2 separate regions of the Homo sapiens genome follow, and region 1 is linked to region 2. Evidence: promoter capture Hi-C in human tissues and cell types (Jung and others, 2019). All regions are on one chromosome and are shown on one strand. The core of a region is centred on a gene start or on the middle of the fragment in contact, and the rest is flanking DNA. Distances in the headings are between cores, read along the strand shown.

Region 1 (6,228 bases), core at 2,498-4,997, 520 kb after region 2:
AAAAGGCCTTCATCCTCTGTCTTTATGTGGAGTGGGCTGAGGAGGAGAATGGAAGAGGAGGGATTGGTTTTGCTTCTCAGGTGTGACAGAGGGGAAAAAATATGTGTACGAGTGGTCCCACACAGTTCAAACTTATGTTGTTCAAGGGTTAACTGTATTCTGCAGGAAATAGTAGCCCAAGAGGATTTACAGTCTAGAAATGCCAGGATCTAACTGTGAAATAATTTTAAAGAGACCACTGTTGGGCTATGTAGCGATTAGATGGGCAAAGGTAGGAACAAGCAGACAAGTTCTGAGATATTTCCTAAAGCCTAAGAGAGATTATTTACATCTAGGGTATTAGTTTATTTTCTTAATCAGTGATTACCATTCCCATAGATAATTTTTATAATATTAATTTGTTGTTATTCAAAGAAATAAACATTTTTTCCTCAAAGTTCACTTTGTTGCTATTTCAGTGTGATTTTATTTCCTATTATATTTTGTTATTTACCATTTTAAATATTTTATTCTAATAGTTTATTGCTGTAATTGTCTAAGTTTCTGTTTGGTAACTTCAGAGTCATTTTAATTGAATGTTTTTAAAGAATTGTTTTAACAAATAGTGTACATATTATATACATTTTAGAATTTAATAGATTCAACACTTTCCAAAAATCTATAAAATACCTATTTGATGCTATACGTTTGATAACATTTTACTAAGAATTAAAATATGGATATCTTCTTAAAGACTGATGTTTTCTGTTTACATATCTGTTTATTTCTTAAAGTACTTTTAGTAAAAATAAATGCATTAATTTAAAAGTTTTCACAAGAAAATTTTATAAATTAAGTAATGTTTTCTTATTTTGCCTAATTATTGACATATTATTAGTTGGTTATTGATAACATCTAGCATTTACTGATCATTTATATGCAAAGCACAATATACTTATTAGATTCTATTGATTTCCTTAAACTCTAATCTCATTTTCCTTAGCAAACATAAATGTTCTTATTCAGTTGCTTTTCAAATATGGGTCTTGTCATATTTTCAGCGAAAAAAATGTAATTGAGAATAATTTTATTAATAGCTTCCTTTCCCTTACTACTTGAATAAAAGTAAGTAAGCAGAGTATTGATTCTCATGGCTTCTATCTAAAAATTCAATAGAAATGTTGAGTGCTCATGATTTTCAGCAAGAACCATCAATATGTAGTTTTGTTTTGTTTTTTTTTCAGACGGAGTCTTGCTCTGTAGCCCAGGCTGGAGTGCAGTGGTGCAATCTCGGCTCACTGCAAGCTCTGTCTCCTGAGTTCATGACATTCTCCTGCCTCAGCCTCCCGAGTAGCTGGGACTACAGGTGCCCGCCACCAGGGCTGGCTAATTTTTTTTTTTGTATTTTTAGTAGAGACGGGGTTTCACCGTGTTAGCCAGGATGGTCTCGATCTCCTGACCTCGTGATCCACCCGCCTCGGCCTCCCAAAGTGCTGGGATTACAGGCGTGAGCCACCATGCCCAGCCAATATATAGTTTTTTTAAAAAGGCAATTAAATAGATTATATCATCTTTAAGTAAAGTATCTTTGTGCAAGATCGTAATTCAAGTTTCCTTCACACTTTTGGTTCAGCTTATCCTACTGGCCACACCACACAATGAAAATGAAATATGTTTTCCAGTACAAGTGACTTTTTTAACTTATCTGTATAGAGCAAACAAGGAATTGTGGAACATGCAAGGCTTTGCTGGGGTGCCTTATTTTCTACTAAGTGTGAGGCTTTGTGACATGGTTATTGTATTTACAGTGCCTTGGTTAAAATAGTCAGTAATACCAATGGCTCTCTTTATGTTAGGGAGGGTCAGATCCCAAAAGCTTAAACAGAAAATCACTACTCACTTTAGCATCTTGGTTTCTCTGGGGTTCTTATGATGGAAGCTTGGCACAGAGGAGTGGTCCATGTGTCTGCTTTGGAAGTGGGACCTCTTGCGTTGAATCTTATCTGAGCCATGTACCAGCTGTGTGACTGGGTGACTCAGTCTCCTTTGGGGGGAAATATTAATGCTCCCTCAGGATTGTTAGGAGGATTAAATGTCTTTGTATACATACAAAGCAACTAGTTGCTAAAGTATTTTATTATCGGTATTATATGAAGACATTTAATCCTTACAGTTCAGTGCCTTGCTGAATAAATACTGAATGAATAGCACTGGTTTTATTAATAGTAGTCGTTTTGATTAAAAATGCAAAATGAAGAAGAATCAGATAGGGTCTTGAAATCTCATGCTCTTCTTATCTCTGTCTCTTCTCTGAGACATCAAACCTTTTAGTTTGGTTGACATGTGGATTTAGAATAGTCTCAGGCCCCACTGGACTACTTTTTTTCCTCAAAGCATTGAAATACTATATAATACTGTATTTGGAATAGTTTTTCTTTAAAATGGCTAAAGTTCCTTTCAGATTAAAAATAATAATATTTAGGAATTATGACTGCAGAAGAGTTGTGGGAGTGAGAAGGGAAAGCACTAGCTCTTCAGGGAGGTGTGAACATCGTTGCCATTCTCGCTGCTGGCAACTTCTTAGATCCATGACAGTTAAAAGGTAAAATAATATCAAACTTGTGTGTGGACTTTCACATTTAAAAAGTAGCATCTTTTGTGTTCATATCCATTAAGAACTATAAAACATGGTGAGTGATTATTTATTGAAGTGTTCCACTTCAGAACAATAAATGGCTGAATGAACCTTTCTCCTTTTGGTGACTCTGCAGGGATCTTCGGAACCTAGTGATTGAAATGGTTTTATCTACAGACATGTCAGGTCACTTCCAGCAAATTAAAAATATAAGAAACAGTTTGCAGCAGCCTGAAGGGTAGGTTTTGTGTTTTTTTTGTTGTTTTTTTTTTTTTGTCATGTTAAAGTTCCAGGGGCTTGGCCTCAGAAAAGACTGTAATTGTTTCCTTTGTTTTGAATAATATAAGCATGTCCTTGGTTTGACAGGATTGACAGAGCCAAAACCATGTCCCTGATTCTCCACGCAGCAGACATCAGCCACCCAGCCAAATCCTGGAAGCTGCATTATCGGTGGACCATGGCCCTAATGGAGGAGTTTTTCCTGCAGGTGCCTCTTTCACACTCTGTGCAAATGTTTTTGGAAATAGTGACTGTGCATATTAGCGTACACCTTTTCTGTATGGAATCCAGGGCTTGTGACTTACTATTATCAACTGGCCACCTACACATTCTTGGGGGTTTCAGCAAAATTTATTAGTCTATCAGAAAGGTGTATTAAGTCTATGTAGTGTGATACATGTTTTAAAGAGATTCAAATTTTGGATCTGAGATGCTACTGTCAGGAAAGAAAAATAAAAGCAGCTAAGAATTGTTATCTGCTGTTAAGACGTAAGTGCCACAGCAGAGACAGCAAATAGCTTTCATAATAGAAAGAGTAGATAAGGATATATAACAGTTCTGCATAAATCTTGTTGGCCAGAATTTTAATGGAGGCCAAGAAATATTGCTTTAGCTGGGTGGACACATGCCTAACTGAAATAGGCAACAACAACAACAACAAAAATCTAATGTTACGTCAGAAACAAGCCCGGATAAGGATTGTGACTGGCGTTCTCTGCCACAAGTACACATCTTTTCTTTATACATGTCCCTGTTTTGCAACCCCCACAATCCAAGCTGGAGTGCTACAATACAAATGTGATGCTAACCACTCAGAGTTAGCATCAAATTGCACAAATTAAGGGCTCAGTCTTCCACAAGATTGGCTCTACTTCAGATGCCAGCTGCAAATGGGGCTGTGGGACACCAGCACTTCTGACCAGCCAGTTACAAGTTCAGTGGTTCCCACAACCCTCTCTAGGTTTGATAACTTGCTAGAATGACTCACAAAACTTCAAAAGTGCTATCCTTACAATTACAATTTTATTATAAAGAATACAATCCAGGCAGAGCCAAATGAAAAGGCCCATAAGGAAAGGTCTGGGAGGGTCTTGGATGCAGAGCTTCCTTGCTATTTCCAGTGGAGTTAGCGAGTACCACCATCCTGCCTTGTCAATGTTTTCACCATCCAGGAAGCTCTACTGAGCTTTCCTGTCCAGAGTATTTATCAAGGTTTCATTACATAGGCATGGTTGATTAAACCATTGGACATGCGATTGAACTCAGTCTCCAGCCTCACTTCCTTCCCAGATATCCCCTGGCTGGCTTAAAGTTCCAACTTTCTAATCATGTGGTTGGTTTCTGGTGACCAGGCCCTATGCTGAAACTATCTAGGGGATAGGCCCAGAGTTGCCTCATTAGCCTAGAGTCTCCTATCACTCATGAAATTCCACAGGTTTTTGAAGCTCTGCTAGGAACTGGGAATGAATATCAGATAATTTTGTTTTATTATATCACAGTCCCACTTAGAGAAGTTCTTTTATTTCTGTATTTTCAGATTATTTCATTTCTCAGTATTGTTCTTTATTTTGAAAGTTTGTTCATTAATTTTATACCTGTTCTGAAGATATAAACACCAAATATATTACTATGTTTGGATGACTCACGTTTCTGTCTCCCATTGTTGATGGACATAATGTGTGGTATTTTGAAAGTTTGTTCATTAATTTTATACCTGTTCTGAAGATATAAACACCAAATATATTACTATGTTTGGATGACTCACGTTTCTGTCTCCCATTGTTGATGGACATAATGTGTGGTTTCATTTTTATATTGCAATTTATATTCCTAGAGAAAGTTACTGAGTAGCATCTTACTAAATTCAAATATTTTGGTCCTAAAAATAGTATTGAAAAATATTTTAATAATTTGCTTTGTGCTAAAAAAATACACTAAATGTAAAAACCTACCAAATTCTAAAGGTCAACTGCTTATTATGGTCAATTAAAAATTATAATGATATACTCAATCAATCAACCAGAGATCTTTCTGTATAGCCCTGTGACATTAGAGATGCAAAAACAGAAAAATAAAGAGATACAAAGATTTTTCAGGTTAAGAAGAAATTTTTAAATATCTTAAGTTGAATGATTTTGAAAACATAATATTTGAAAATTGTTGGATGCAACTGAAGCAGTGCTTAGGGGAAATTTTATAGCTTCACATACTTACATTAGAAAAAAAATGTGTAATAAAGTAAGTTATATCTGTTTCACCTTAAGAAGCTAGAAATTAAGAAAATTGAATCAAAATAAGTTGATGGAAGGATATAATAAATATAAAAGCCAAAAACAGTGAAACAGAACAAAGACAAACAATAACAAAAGTTAATGAAGATAACAGTTGGCTCTCCGAAAAAGTAATGAAATTACTTGCAGGATCAAAAAGAGGAAAAAACTATAAATGAAAGAGAGAATATCATTATAGAGCCTGTATTCATCAAAAGGGTGAGGAATATTATGCACAATTTATGCCAATAAAATTGAAAACTTAGATGAAATTGTCAAAATTTTTGACAGATATAAATTACCAAAACAGACACAAGAAAAAATCATGTAGTCTGAATATTCATATATCTGTTTCAAAAGTTGAATTTGTACTTTAACTCTTCTTATGAAGAAAACTCTAGGCTTAGATGACTTTAATTCTTATTTCCGATTTCAATTCTCAATATTCAATTCAATTGAGAGATGGAGAATTTTCTCAAACATTTCAGGAAGAAATAATGCCAGTTTTACACAAATTCTTTTATGACATAGAGGAAGAGGAAAATTTGACAGCATAATTCTCGACATTACCTGACAAAGACTTTTCAAGTAAAGAAAATTACACATCCACATCTGCCATAAAACTGAAAGAGAAATTTTTTTTTAATTTTTAAAATTTTTAGCAAATCAAATCCAGCAATTTAGTAAGATAGTGCATATCATATCATAACTTGAGTCAGTTTAATATTAAAAAATTAAGGTAATTCACCATATTAAAGGAAATAAAGGAAAAAATATATTAATTATCAACCCTATAGATATGCAAAATGCATTTGACAATATTCGACAGACATTAATTATAAAAACTGTTAGTAAACTAGAAGTAGAAGACCTTTCTCAACCTGATCAAAGGTCTATAGCGAATGTGATACTTCACAATGAAATACTGAACATTTTTATTCTAAGATCATTATAGGTACTCTTACCACTTCTATTCAACATTGCATTTGAAGTTCTAGCCAGTGTAGGAAGGTAATAAAAAACAAAGTATAGTTTGAATAAAAATAAATAAAACTGTTATTTGCA
Region 2 (6,195 bases), core at 1,704-4,203:
TACTGTGCTTCATAAAATTTGTTTCTGAAGGATGCTTTCATTTAAATAATACTCGGATGGTAGAAGGTCTACTGTCTTTTATATGGAAACTTAAAAATCATTATTTGAAATTTTAAAGAAAAATTAAAAAAAAATAAAAACCTTAAATAGAATGTGGATCTTAGGAAAAGATAATCAACTAAACAATATTTAAAGAAATATTGTTTCTCTTGCTCAGCTTTATGCAATGAAAATAATCCTATTTTAAAACTTCTACCTAGAAAAGAGAAAATTATAACTATGTCTTCTTGTTAATGATGAACGCTAAATCTCACTAAGAAATAATCAAATAAATTACAAAAACACCATAAAAATTAAAATGAGTTTAGTTTTGAAAGATTTACATTAATGTGTACATAAATATTTATGACTGGCATTATATTCAGCTGCTGTGAAGTATTAATTTATAAAACTTTCTAACTCTGGTTTGTGGACTTGTGCATACACAGAAGAAAACAGTCAAAGTTAAAACATGCTATTATTAGCTATTACTTCTATTTTTAGCAAGTCATACCCTCTGAGTTTTAAAAAAATATTTTTGTTCCTGTTCTAAAACACTTGATCTTAACCTACTTTAATAAGAAAACTACTTCAACTACTTCACGGATATTATCGTTTGTTTTGGGGTTAATGTCTTTAATAGAATTGTTGGAAAATCGTCTACAAATTAAGAGGGAACTGAATTTTTGGTACTGACATTCCTTCACGGGATCCTAAATAATCCAGAACATTTTGGTGCTTTTGTTTCTAGCATACAAGTTGAATTATAATTTTGACATATGATTATTCTTAAGCATTTGATCATTTAAAGCAATTTAAATAAATATCAAAATGTACCAAAAATATAATCAAATATTTTTAAAAACAAACGTTTACCTACCGGGTTTTTATCAGGATGTAACTTCAATGCCAATTTCTTGAAAGCTTGTCTTATTTCTCTACTGCTTGCAGTTTTGGACACTCCAAGTAAACTGTAAAAATCCTGATCTGTGCCCACTAAAATGGCCATATACACTATCAGAAAACAGAGAATGATCCTTTTCAAGTCTCTGATATAGTCATCTTTATTTAACCAGACTCCCATTCTCTTTCTTATGCAAGTTCTGATTTAAGTGAACATTAAGATTCACTGCTGGTTCCAGTTGATGTAATATGCAAATTTGAGAACTTCTGTCTACATTACTTCAAGGGTGAATCAAGCATCACAAATCTGTCCCCAAAAATATTAATCTAAGAAAGAAAAGCAGGCAGTTAAAATACATTTTGAACTAAACAATAATAGCACAATTTATTTATCACAGAACATGGTCAGCAATACAATCTCCATTAAATGGCAAATCAGTGTGAATGCCCCAGGTTCTATTTTTCACTCTTTCTACATCCATGTAGCTAGATTTGTGAAATCACTGAAGATAGCAGAAAAAAGGTCATGAGTGGTAGTAAGTAGCTTGCACACACACCCTCAGCAATTTATACACTGAGAAAAGACCTCTGACGAGCATCAGAACACAAAGGTGGCAATGAGCTACAGGTGCTTCCTCTTTCTACCCAGTTATAGCGTTGCCTGTAATACCTCTTCCTTTTAGCTACTTCTTTACCTCCTAAAGCTGTCTAATTTTCATTTTCAGCAGAATTCACTTGTAGGAAATGTCCTTGGGAGGGACTAGAAGGAAACATAGGGTTTTTTACTTCTCATATAACCCTACCAGAAATGACAGTGAAATATATTGTTATAATAGACAATCTACACAGCAGTCGATCTTCTTCCCGGAGTTTCCTCAGAAGGTGCTTATACTGAATTTAAGTAGAGGCCATTTTTTAAAAATAGTAGAAAAACAATTGTAAGTTACCAGTGTAATTTTATTGCAAAGTTCATGTTTGGTGTAAGTAGAAACAAAACACAAAAAGAGAAGGGAATCGGTTATTTAGACATACTCTCTGCAGGGCAAAAACAATCATTACTTCATCATATCACATTTCAACCACTATATTTTAGTTCCAAAGAGATCGTAATGCTTTGAAAAATCTAACGCTCCTCGCACCTCATTTCTGTTTTTCATTTAATCCTAAATGTATATTTAAAAATTTTTCTCTTTACCTGTGAATGGTCTTCAGCTCATTTCTAATACTTCCTTTTCATTCCACAAAAATATACCTTTGAAAAATATAATGATGTAGAGATTAACAAGTATCCAAACAAGAAAACAACCATCAGAAAAAGAGAGGGCATAGTCTCAATCAACACTTTGGGATAAGATGTTTCTCGCCCAGGGGTTGTTCTCAGCGTGGGTGTGGCCGAACTGCCCGTGGCCCGAGCTACCGGGCAGGTGGAAGCGCCAGGTAAATGCAAGGCGCAAGCTTTCGCATTGCCATCACTGCAGAGTGGGAGAGGGGAGAGGGGTAAAGATGAAGACACGGGGGAACAGGGCTGTTAAGTGTTGCTGGTGTCTGAAGTCTCAGGTCGGACTTAGGGAGAAAGTGTAAGTAACTGAGAGGGAATCGCTGGGCAGAGGAAGGGTGGTGTGAATAACAGGGAGGAGGAAGGTGGGGAGCGAGAACACAATATCCAGGTCTTAAGAGCGCACAGGAAGGGAGGTTCAGGCGCTCAGCCATTCCGCCCCTCCCTGACCGGAGGGCCCAGGCCACCACCGGCTCCAGCAAAGCCCTAGCCCCGGGCCCATGCCCACCTTGCCATCGCGGGGTCGCTTCCTGTAGCTACTCCCCCATCCTCAAACCCTGGCGGCGGACCCCGCCTGGCCGAGCCCAAGCACCGCGTGCAGGAGAGAAGCACACGCACTCTCCGACGGCCCAGCCGCGGCGCACGGGATTGGTGAGGTGCAGCCACACCGGCGACTACCAGCGCGCGGCCGGTACCGGTAGGTTCCTCACGCGCCGGTCTCCACGGCGAGCCGGGGCGGGGCCTGGCGCGGAGCATTGTGGGAAAGGCGTGGAGGACGCTGCCTGGGGAGACCCGCTGCGGGCCCAGCGGGCGCTGCGGCGGTGGGGTGGAGAGGGCGGTGTAGGTTTAGGTTGACGTGGCGGTGTGCGCGGGATCCGGCTCCGGCTCCGGCTCCAACCCGGAGCTGAGGGAACTGCCCTGGCCAAGCAGCCCGCGCCCCCTCACCAATGCGGCCGGCGCCTGCCGCGGGCGGGGAGGGTGGATGGCGAAGCCCGCCTCTTCCTGCTTCCGTTGCCAGGGTGACGGGGAAACCCAGAGGGTGGGTTTTGGGGTTGAGTTCCCTGAGAGTCTTTTAAAGGGAAGACGGAGCTTTGGAGGATTTGTCTGGGTGATGGGTGGGTGAGACCGAAAGGCGAAATTTGGCGGAGAAAGGAGAAGTTGCCTGAAGCGACACTGATTGCAGTATCAGGCTAGCGGACTGAAGAGGCAGTAGGAAACTTGAAGGAAATTAAAACATTTACAATTTTGTGTAAGCGTGTGTATCAACAAGCATTTGAGACTTCTACAATATTTTCTGGATTCTGAGTCATACAAGCTAGAAACTGGGGAGTTATCGTTGTTCTCTCTTACCTTGATCTCCTACTGCTATGGTACAGGAACTGCATTTTGTCCCACAGCAATATAACAATTGAAGTGGTTATATTTACTACATTTTCTATATTTAAAAGAGAAAACCGAGCCTAGAGGATACCTGCTTATAACATCAACCCTAACATGAAATAAGTTGTGATTGGTAACAGTTTCGGGGAGTAAATCAAGTGTCAGCTTCTAAAAACTTGGAAAACTACACAGGATCTATGGCTAAGCTAATACTTGGTAGGAAAGAAGAGGAAGTAGAATGAACAAAGGCAAACATTAGAAGCAGCCTGATGTAATAGTAGTTAATATGTCTCAGGAACTGGTCTAAGCACACATGTAGTAACTCATTTAGTCCTCCAAATAATCTTACAAGATAGTGGCTCCTATATCTATTTCCCATTTGAGGAAACTGAGGCAAATATTTGAGAGCTAGGATTCACATCTAAGCAACCTGGCTTCAGAGACTATGATGTTAAGCATTATGACACAGTGTGTAACCATTTTGTTACACACTGTAACAAAATCTTAAAGTAAATTGAAAAACAAACAGAAAACTGGAAGATGAAGCAGGGACCAGATCACAGACAGGTTTTTATACCAAGATGAAGACATAGATTTCTATCTCTTAGGTGATGAGGAAGCTTTTAAAAAAGAGACTGAGATTGTATTTTAGATCATCCTGGCAGCTATTGGAGAGAGGATGCAAAGCATACAAAACTGGAGAAAGAACAGGAGAATGTTAGACAAATAGGGTAAATGCTTTAAGAGGTGGTGGGCCGGGTGTGGTGGCTCACGCTTGTAATCGCAGAACTTTGAGGGGCTGAGGCGGGTGGATCACTTGAGGTCAAGAGGTCGAGACCAGCCTGGCCAACGTGGTGAAATCCCATCTCTACTAAAAATACAAAAATAAGCCGGGCATGGTGGCACACCCCTATAATCCCAGCTACTCGGGAGTCAAGAGAATCGCTTGAACCCGGGAGACAGAGGTTGCAGTGAGCCAAGATCACACCACTGCACACCAGCCTGGGTACAGAGCAAGACTCTGTCTTGGGGGAAAAAAAAAAGTAAGAGATGGTGATTGGTTGGATATGGGAGATAAAGGAAAGATTTAAGTTTAACTTCTGACTTCTTATGGCTGAATACTACCCACTGAATGAAGATCTGTTTAGGGAAAAGATAAAGGGTTCTGACTTGGACATATCTAGTTCAAGGTTCCTAGATCATATCTTAGTGAATATACCCTGCATAAAACTCATGGGTAATGTCTAGATTGGAGAAAAAATAGGAGAAAAATCATCAGATCACCCAAAGAAAGTGTGCAGAATAAGTAAAGTTGTGGACCAAGGATTAAAACCTTGGGGAATTCTAACATCAAGAATGAAAGCACACACGGAAAAAGAATCTAAGCTTCATGAAGGTGGATTTTTGTTCATTTTATTTACTGTTATGGCTCCAGCTGTTCTTACTATATGGTAGGTACTACATAAATATTTTTTGAATGAATAAACATTAATTTGAGAAATAGGCTGAAGAAGAAGAACCCATACAGGATGTAAAAAAGAGATGATCAGAGATGGGCAAAAGGAACTAAACATCAAGGAAGTTAGAGTGAGTCAGATAAGATACTGACTGCAACTTGTTAATTAGGTCTGGCAATTAGGAGGTTATAGGGACCTTAGTAAGCACAATTTTGGTGGATGGTAAGGCTGGAAGTTAGATTGTAGTAGACTAAAGATTGGCTAGGAGCTGAGGAAATGGAAATAGCAAGTACATATACTCTGTTCAGAGTTTGGGTGAAAAGAGGAAGGAAACTCATGTAACTAGAAGAGGATGTGGATTCCAAAGAGGAAATGCTTTAGGCTTGGAAAGGCTTGAGCAAGTTCATAAGCTGAGTAGAAGCCAAAAAAGAAAGAGGCCACAGATATGAGAGGGATGGAGTCAAGAGCACAGATGGATTGATAATCTTACACAGTTCATTTATTTATTTATTTAGTATTTTTTGAGATGGAGTTTTGTTCTTATTGTCCAGGCTGGAGTGCAATGGTGCGATCTTGGCTCATTGCAATCTCTGCTTCCCAGGTTCAAGCAATTCTCCTGTCTCAGCCTCCCAAGTAGTGGGGATTACAGGCACATGCCACCACACCTAAATAATTTTTGTATTTTTAGTAGAGACGAGGTTTCATCATATTGGTCAGGCTGGTCTCGAACTCCTGACCTCAGGTGATCTGCCCACCTCAGCCTCCCAAAGTGCACATTTAATTTATTAATTAAAGTAGTCTACTGTTCTCTGGGCTAGGTCATTAGGGTTACTGTGGTGAGCAAGGACATAGCTCTGCCCTCAGTAAGTAGGATAATAGAGGACACATCAATTATTCAAACAAATCTGTAATTATGAAGGAAGAATACATAGTGTTGTGATGTTGTGAGCTACTCTAGGGGCAAAGATTTGCCAAAGGTTTCACCAAAAATAAAAATAAAAAGGAAGAAATTTAACATATATGGGCAAAAAATTAGGCAATATTATAGTCAGATTGAACAGCAAGTGCATAGTTCTTGTACTTCAAAAGAGCATGGGTGTTAAAGGAACAAAAAGATCACCAGAATGTAGCAAGCCAAAA

What was found. Contacts are between HindIII fragments. The study calls those that stand out against the background at their distance.
Region 1: a contact is called between a fragment that was not itself captured here and the fragment with the promoter of DNAJC10 in region 2, in 2 of the 25 tissues and cell types used here (dorsolateral prefrontal cortex and mesenchymal stem cells).

The regions. Positions count from the first base shown.
Region 1 is chr2:182,198,312-182,204,539 of GRCh38, reverse strand. PDE1A (phosphodiesterase 1A) reads left to right here. Exons shown (of 15, transcript NM_001363871.4): 9 at 2,751-2,852; 10 at 2,981-3,101. Among named protein-coding and RNA genes, the nearest start is that of PPP1R1C, 220 kb to the right of the region's middle. The HindIII fragment of the contact is 3,719 bases long and covers 1,888-5,606 here.
Region 2 is chr2:182,713,015-182,719,209 of GRCh38, reverse strand. DNAJC10 (DnaJ heat shock protein family (Hsp40) member C10) reads right to left here and starts at 2,953. Exons shown (of 24, transcript NM_018981.4): 1 at 2,727-2,953; 2 at 2,138-2,194; 3 at 920-1,269. The coding sequence starts at 1,123. It overlaps LOC101929976 (a long non-coding RNA gene), which reads left to right and starts at 4,600. Exons shown (of 7, transcript XR_427200.3): 1 at 4,600-5,049. It also overlaps a transcript of PDE1A not described here. RefSeq lists a silencer at 2,561-2,720 and enhancers at 2,282-2,886, 3,231-3,300, 3,321-3,470. The HindIII fragment of the contact is 2,921 bases long and covers 1,681-4,601 here.